Linked DNA regions of Homo sapiens: regions 1 and 3 are each linked to region 2. The links are contacts of gene promoters, found by promoter capture Hi-C in human tissues and cell types (Jung and others, 2019). All regions are on one chromosome and are shown on one strand. The core of a region is centred on a gene start or on the middle of the fragment in contact, and the rest is flanking DNA. Distances in the headings are between cores, read along the strand shown.

What was found. The method cuts DNA at HindIII sites, captures the fragments that hold promoters and counts their contacts. A contact is called where the count stands out against the background at its distance.
Region 1: a fragment that was not itself captured here is called in contact with the fragment with the promoter of KRT74 in region 2 in 5 of the 25 tissues and cell types used here (bladder, dorsolateral prefrontal cortex, heart right ventricle and 2 more).
Region 3: the fragment with the promoter of KRT83 here is called in contact with the fragment with the promoter of KRT74 in region 2 in 2 of the 25 tissues and cell types used here (H1 embryonic stem cells and bladder).

Annotation. Positions count from the first base shown.
Region 1 is chr12:52,426,398-52,429,097 of GRCh38, forward strand. KRT75 (keratin 75) reads right to left here. Exons shown (of 9, transcript NM_004693.3): 6 at 2,221-2,346; 7 at 1,859-2,079; 8 at 420-454. Among named protein-coding and RNA genes, the nearest start is that of KRT75, 6.6 kb to the right of the region's middle. The HindIII fragment of the contact is 7,225 bases long and covers 1-2,700 here.
Region 2 is chr12:52,572,557-52,575,373 of GRCh38, forward strand. It overlaps KRT74 (keratin 74), which reads right to left and starts at 1,287. Exons shown (of 9, transcript NM_175053.4): 1 at 751-1,287; 2 at 1-111. The coding sequence starts at 1,221. The HindIII fragment of the contact is 9,071 bases long and covers 1-2,817 here.
Region 3 is chr12:52,319,959-52,322,675 of GRCh38, forward strand. KRT83 (keratin 83) reads right to left here and starts at 1,440. Exons shown (of 9, transcript NM_002282.3): 1 at 994-1,440. The coding sequence starts at 1,377. The HindIII fragment of the contact is 13,306 bases long and covers 1-2,717 here.

The DNA of each region.
Region 1 (2,700 bases), core at 33-2,532, 150 kb before region 2:
TGTCCACAGCATGAAGGCTCCCTTCAAAGGTCCAAGCCAGACCAGGAATTTTCATAAATCCCGTCTACATCAAGTGCTCACCTCTGTGCTAGGCTTGCAGCCCCAACAAAAAGGCAGGGAATTCTGGGAGGTAGGAGATGTGGCCAGGATCTTTTAAACCCACTCAGAACAATGACATCAAACCTCTCATCACCCCTTCTGTGACACCCTCACTCTCAAAGAGGAAAGAACTGTGACATTAAAGACTCCTAATATGGCTTGCTTTTTAAGGGACCCAAAACCTCAAACCTTCTCCAAATGAACGCTGTCTGTGAGATCCCGTCTAACCCGTCATATCTTCACCCTCTGGCAAGCCCACCACATCCCCATCCCCTCTACCACACACACTCCAAATGGCCCAAGAAGTATGTCATACTCACAAATGTTAACTGGAGAAACTCCCTCTCCACTCAACCTGATTGGGAAGAGCAGGGAGAAGGAAGGTTACCAATGTGGCCAGCAGCTTAAGGGCCTTTGCAATGACACTTTTGTAATTGTTGACAAAGCATTTAAACATACTTTATTATTTTTATTGCAGAAGTAATGCAGGTTGAAATTATTTGAGAACTAGTAGTATTAAAGATAATATTAATAATCTAATGAATAAAATAAGGTGGAGTTTGAGGTTCACAGGAGCAAAATCTATAATCTCAGAAATACAATTTTTGGTTTAAACTAGTTAGATGCCTTAAGGAAATTAAAAGTAATCATATACTGGCATCAACTGGAAAGAAGGGCCTGTCCTATAATAAGATTTGTCTCTCAACAAGGGACCATTGTCATGCACTGAGCCAGGGCTGAGCTTATTGTATATAGGTGTGGAGAGGCGTCTGAGTCATAAAAATAACAATAGTAATATCAGTTTATTATTATCTTAGCAACCAAGTAACTTTGCTTTAGCATCTTCAGGACAGAACTGGCATTCATTCATAAACACATACTGAGAAACTTAACAAGAGGTAACAGCTGTTGATTACCTGTTACTTATATCACACCACTTAGTTCTCTCAACAACCCCATGAGGTAGGTATTATTTGCTCACTTTTATAGAGGGAGAAATGGAAGCTCAGACAAGTTAACTAACTTGCCCATAGTCGCAAAGCTGGACTTGAAGACAGATTCATCTGACACCAAAGCCTATGTCTTTGGCCATGAAACTGAATGATAGCTAACATTTATCGAACACGCTGTGTACCATGCATTGTTCTAAGAGCTTTGTGTGTATTCCCTTATTTTAACCCTTTTAATAATGTGAGAGTTTAGAACTATTGTTATTCACATTTTATTGGATGAGAACACTGAGAGGTGGAGAGGTTAAGTATCTGCTCTTGGCTACACAGCTCCTAACTGGCAGAGCACAAAGCTCCCATGAAGCTTTGCGGATCATGTAATCTGACCTTTTCATTTTATCATTGAAGAAATTGAGGGCCAGAGAAGGGAGACTGACTTTCCCAAGGTTATGTAGCTACTTAGTGTTAGATCTGTAAGCCCAAATCCTAGGACTGTTTGTTCTCAGCCCATGGCCTTTTAGACCACATTTCGAGAGCTGCCATGTAACCAAATGTCTCCTTTGGTAGAATTCAGTTACTTAGACCTGATCAGGTTTTAGGTTTCTATGGGGATGCTAACTGTAGTTGCACCTCAAATGATTTACTAGCCTGGAAGGAAATTAAAATTATTTTTTTGCCATAGCCCAATTCTGAACTGCATTTTCTTCCAGGAGAAGAAGGGGCTGCAACAGCCCGAGCCCCTAGGAATGCCCAGGAAGCTGAGGTGAGCTCAACTTGCTTTGAGGATGAAGTTGGTGCATCTGCCTCACCTGCACTCCTCGCCTTCCAGCAGCTTGCGGTAGGTGGCGATCTCCACGTCCAGGGCCAGCTTGATGTTCATCAGCTCCTGGTACTCACGCAGGAGCCGAGCCATGTCCTGCTTGGCCTTCTGCAGGGCCTCCTCAAGGTCCACCAGCTTGGCCCGTGCATCCTTGAGAGCCAGTTCTCCCCGCTGCTCTGCATCAGCAATGGCCGTTTGCAAGCTGGAACACTGTAAGGACAGGAGGAAGCCATGAGTCCTGCTGACAGCCCATGGAGGTGTGGTGCTTCTTGGGGAGGAGTTCTTAAAGATGGCAGAAAGGCCCAGAAGAAATGAGCATTTGAGGAGCTCTTGGCCCTGCCAAATCTTTACCTGCTTCTTGACGCTGTCAATCTCAGCTCTCAGCCTCTGGATCATGCGGTTCATTTCAGAGATCTCTTGTTTGGTGTTTCGAAGGTCATCCCCATGTCTGCCTGCGGTGACCTGCAGCTCCTCGTACTGAGAGAACCAGAGCAAACCCAGTCACTGAGTCAAATGCCTGGCCCAGGCACTCGCTGTGCACACAGACCCACCCTGGGTGCCACAAGCAGGCTCATTCATTCCTGGTCATTCACTCATTCCCCCTGAAGCTTACAGTTTATTGGGGGACATAGACATTAACTGAATTAGCATATTATCAAATGTATAGTTCCACACTAAGATAAGTGCCCTTAGGAAATGAACAGGGTCCTGGGAGAGTGTAATGAAGGAATCTGACCTAGATTTGGAAGTGGGAAGTGGTGGTCAGAGAAGTCTCTCCAGAGATGGAGATGCTTGAACTGTGGTCTGAAGGATGAGAAGGAGGGACCTAAG
Region 2 (2,817 bases), core at 37-2,536:
GTAGCCCTCAAGGATGGGCTCCAGGTTCTTCTTGCAGTTGTTCAGGTCCAGCTGCTGCAGCAGCTCCCACTTGGTTTCTAGAACCTGGTTCTGCTGCTCTAGGAAGCGTACCTGGAACCCAAATCAACAGACACCTGGAACCACAATGGGTGCAGTCATGCCCCCTGGACACACACCATTGACTCCCCAGGTTTGCCATAGATTGTTGTAGTCATTTTTGCTCATGTCTTGACTCTCCACCCTTGCCATTCCACACAAACTAGATCCTTTACAAGTGCTCATTTCCTAGCCTTCTGGACAAGGCATCACTGAGAACTCACTCAAGGAGTTTCCACAGCTTTCTTCTATTGCTCGGCCCTGGTCCCAGGAGATGTCCTTCCTTATGTCTCAACTAAGTGTCTCTTCCTGTACCATGAGCCCTTCCCTCTGAACACTGCTGGATTCTATTAGCCTTTCATGTTCTTGGAAGATCCAGCTGTCCTCAAGAAACTCATCACTTTTTTGTCAAGGAAGGGCTGCTCTTTACCCAGCTTCCCATCCTTCCCTGCAAAATCGCCAAAGAAGCCGATATATTCATGTATTCCTTTGTCCTCCGTGGCTCACAGACCTACTCTCCTTCCCTAATGGTGAGGAAGCCCTTCCTGAGGCCCAGCTGCACCTTTCCAGCCACAGTGTGCAGTCCATTCCCAGGCAGCAGGAAAACTGCTCAGGCCTCAGGGTGCGGCCTCATCCTCCTCCTATGAGACCCACCTTGTCAATGAAGGAGGCGAACTTGTCGTTCAGCACCTTGATCTGTTCCCGCTCCTGGGCGCGCACCTTCTGGATCTCAGGGTCCAGCTCCACGTTGAGGGGGGCCAAGAGGCTCTTGTTGACAGTGACCTGGTGGATGCCCCCAGGTGGGCACACAGACAAACATGCAGGCCCCAGGGCCACACTGCCAAACATACTGCCAGCAAAGCCACTGGCCCGGCCCCCTCCATACCCAGAGCCAGGCCTGAAGCCGTAACCTCCAGCCCGAACGCCGCCACCAGCCACATTGAAAGAAATACGCCGATTCCCTCCAAGGCTATAGAGGCTCCGACTGCCAAAGCCAGCGCCAGCCCCTCTGCCAGCTGCACAGTAAGAAGCCAGGCTACCCACAGCCTTCCTTGGCACCACTGCCGAATGCACACTGAAGTTGCCCTTGTCACCACTGGACTTGATGTTCAGTTGCCGACTCATGGTGGGAAAGGTTGAGTTGACAGAGCTGGAGAAAAGCAGTCTCCAAGGGGTAGAGAACACACTGATGGGGCACCCAGAGTGCTGCCTCCTTTTATCCCTGTTGAGCCCAGGACACCGGAAAAGGGCGTCTCTCCACTATCTCCTTTCCCCTGCTGATGGGCCAGGGGCCATGGGCAATTTGTAGAACAGAGATCTCCAAGCCCTTTGCAGCAACAAAGCTCTTCTGATAGCAAGTGGAATATGCTGCCCTTGCAGAGTGGAGTGGTCTAATTTGGAGTTTATCTGTGCTCCCTAATTAAGGACCTGAAGAGTTATCCCCTGAAGAGATCTCCTAGCTTTATTTTTCCAGTGCTACCTCCTTCTTGCTTAACCATCAGCAAGGAGCAGGGGAAATGCCTGGCTTTCCCCAGAGTAGACTCACCTGAAAAACCCCAGGTTTCTTCCCAAAAGAAACCATCTCTCTATTATAGGGTCTTGTGTGGAAGCTGGAATTTTTACCTCAGGGAAAAGAAGACATGGAAAGATGATTCTTCTTGGAAAGATGTCCTCAAAGATCTGGATCTGGGTAAGAAGCTCCAGGGTCCGTCCTTGGGCCATGCTAAGGACCACAGCTGTCTAGCAGTGAAGTGGACCCCAGGAAGGAAGAGGAATGACTCTGCAGCATCTGCATGCCCCCCTAGCAGGGATATTGTCTAGGGCCTTCTGTGTTGGGCAGGGCCTGGGTGGTGGTGACCTTGACATTGCCTTACAACCATGAGAACCTTTCCAGTCAGCTGCATTTCCTCCAGTTGGATTTTCTCTCCTGGATAAGATTATTTGTCCTACTCTAGGAAGTCAGGCAGGAGCTGGGATATTAGCCCCTGCACTCCCTGGGGAAACACCCTATGGCTGAAGTCACCAAGGAACAGGACCCCCTGAGTTTCACTCCCAGGTTCAGGGTGGGCTGTTCTGCCAGTTTCCTGGCAACTTCAGGGAGCACTCAATTTTCAAACAGGAAGTATCACTGCTTTATAGCTCAGGTAGTGTGGGTACAGTGCAATGTTAAAAAATTATTTCAGGGCTGGGCATGGTGGCTCACACCTGTAATCCCAGCACTTTGGGAGGCCAAGGAGGGCAGATTGCCTGAGGTCAGGAGTTTGAGTCCAGCCTGGCTAACATGGTGAAACCCCGCCTCTACTAAAAATACAAAAATCAGCCGAGCGCAGTGGTGCATGCCTGTAGTCGCAGCTACTCAAAAGACTGAAGTAGAAGAATCACTTGAACCTGGGAGGCAGAGGTTGCAGTGAGCCTAGATTGTGCCACTGCACTCCAGCCTGGGCAACAGAGCAAGACTCTGTCTCCAAAAAACAAAAAAAATTATTTCAAAGCTAGGTATCTGGCAGCTGCCCTCATGCAAGACTCTGACCACTTCCTATAACTAAACTGAGAACACTTGGCTTGTTTGGATCCAGCCGAGGGCAGAAGACAACTGCTCCCACTGCTGGGGAGGGAAAAGGAGAAGCTGACCTGGGCAGGGAGCGTGGAGCTTAGGCCTGGAAGCTGCCCCGGAAGAATTTCCCCTTCACAGGGTGTTTTCCTCTCAGCCCCTGAGGTAAC
Region 3 (2,717 bases), core at 190-2,689, 250 kb before region 2:
CACAGTGGCAGAGAAGAGCTCAAACTCCGATCTTCTGCGCTGCAGGGGGTGTCTTCTCTCCCTTTGACAATTATAGGAACATCCCTCTCCCAGCGATGAGGTTGGCCCACTACTCCACTCAGCTTCTTTTGTCTAATAACTTGGCCACACCCTTGGTAGGTCCTATCTTATGCTATCCTTGGTCTCTCATGCTATTAGAAATTCCACATTTTTTTTTCCCGATCCTTTCTGGTGGGCATCTCTCTAGTGTGACTCCTCTCTTGAGGTTTTGGCTCTGGAGGGCTCTTTCCAACCCCAGAACATGTTCCTAGTCAGAGCCTTTTCTCCCAGTCTCTCACATCACTGCCACATGGTGGTTGCCTGGATTCAGTGGAGAAGGTGGCTGCAAACTCTAGTTGGACACTGACTACACAGATGGTTTCAACCAAACCCAGACTGTGCACTGCCTGCCTCCCCATAAAGCCTGTGAGGATGGGGACCATGACTCTTGCTCACCCCTGGATCCTGAGCCCCAGGAACAGTGGCTTGGACAAAATACTCTAGACCCTGCTCAGTGGCCAAATCACTGTGTGGTATAGAAAGAGTTCTGTGCCATCCACGAGACCCACTTCCAGACAGTTTTCCAGCACCACACTTATTAGCCCTGCCTTGATGGAGACAGCATCTCCTTGGCATTTAAGCAGTTATTTGGCTTCAAATGCCCTGAGCGCCCACACAGTGGTCCTTTGCTCACTAGGTGATATTATCACTCAGTGTGGAAGGCTCTGCCCCTCGTTCTGCTTTTGTGTTTTCAGTTAATCTCCCCCATCAGTCTGGTAGCTCCCGGTCCCATTTTTGTCTTTCTGTCTGTGTCCTAGAAGTATGACTACCTTTCCCTTTGGCCTGGGAACTTCTGTGGGCAAGTTCTTGCCTTTGACTTCCCTGTCAGTGCCCAGCCTGAGTTCTGAACATGAGTAGGGGTTCAGGAAGGGTGTGATCCAGGACGACACCCACCTTGTCGATGAAGGCCGCGAATCTGCTGTTGAGGGACTTGATCTGCTCCTTCTCCTCCTGCTTCACGCACTGCGCGTTGGGGTCTATCTCCAGGTTGAGGGGCGTGAGGAGGCTCTCGTTGACCGACACGGTGGTGATGCATGGGGGGCTGGGTCCGCACACGCCCCCGGAGCGGTAGCCGAAGCTGCGTCCGCAGGAGCCGGCGCGGAAGCCCCCGCACACGCTGTGGCTGCCAAAGCCCCCGGTGAGGCCGCGGTAGCAGGAGATGCCGCGGTAGGGGGCGGCGGTGATGCAGCAGCGGCTTGGCCGGGGCCCGCAGGCAGAGACACAGCTGAAGTTTCCAGGGCGGAACCCACAGCCTATGGAGTTGAAGCCACAGGTCATGACGGAGGTTAGGAGGTGTCTGAACAGTGGAGTAGATGGCAGAGGATGGAACCAAGGGCCTGTGCTCCCTGGCTGATGGCAGGCCCTTTTATGTGCCAGGGGCAGCTGGTGTTAAAAGAGGGAGCAAAGAGACAATAGCTGAATTTTATTGGCTTGGCATCACCCTGGCCTCTTAAGCTAGAACCCTGCTTGCCTCTTCAGTGTGGCTGCATCAACAATCCCTGGCCACGGGCCCTGTTTCATCTTCAAAGCCCTTTATAAGCTTCCTCCTTGCTCCTGCCCCTCCCACTGGCACTGCTGTGGAGCGGGGAGAGGGGTTCCTGAAAGCATTAGTTGCATTCTGCGGTCCAAGCGAGGGGAATGGGTGCAGTGACCTGGGGTAAAGCCTGCTCTCTGAACCCTGTTCTGAAAGGGGCAGAGCTAGGCTATGGGCCCTGGACCCATGGCCAAGCCCTGGGGTGGAGTGGCTGGCCTGTCCCAAGGAGGGGGCTGCCTCTGAGACAACCTCTTGCTGTAGGCTTTCCTGTCTTTTTCTCAAAGGCGGGTTCCTTTCCTCATTGTCAAGATTGGCCGCTCCTATCCTATTCCTGCTCAGAGCCTGGTCAAGGATGGGAGTGGGGGTAGAGATTTGGGGTGGGAGGAGGGCATGTTCTTTGCACTTTGGGTATTCCTAGTGCAGGGACACCATCTGGGACATGGAAGAAACTGATTCAGAGAGTTCAGGACAGTGCCAGGGCTATGCTTCAGAGTTCCAGGTGTCATTGCTGATGGGATCAGGAGCGGGGAGTGTGGAATACCTCAGAGCTCCAGGGACTCATGGAGGAGAGTGGGGACCTGGGCTTGAGGAGGATTGGGGTGGGGTAGTACAGGATTGAGAGATGACCAGAAAAGAGTCTGGCTCTGATTTGCAGACTAGACTATGTGTATTCATTTATTCATTTATTCATTTATTCATTTATTCAGGAAATACTTATTTGGTGCCCACCAACTATGCACTAGCCACTGTGCTAGGTTCTGGAAATCCTACAGAGACCTGGGGTGTTTGGAGGTAGCATGCATGTGGGGGAGCCAACATTTGGCTAGGGGGAAAGATGAGAAGCCACAGATGGGGGGAAGGCCCTCACAATGTCCAGGCTGATTGGTGTTCTTTAGGTTCCCAGCAGGGAAGCTCAGTGATGGGGTCTTGGGGTGTATGTACTCACCAGGAAGGAGGGAAGGTGCGGGAGGTGAGGGACATCAGCAGGGTCCTTAAATGAGATCACTCTCTCACCTCAGAGAACACACTGGGTGAGAGAAGGGTGCTAGCTCATGTGGCTGTTCCTAAAGCCAAGCTCTCTTAC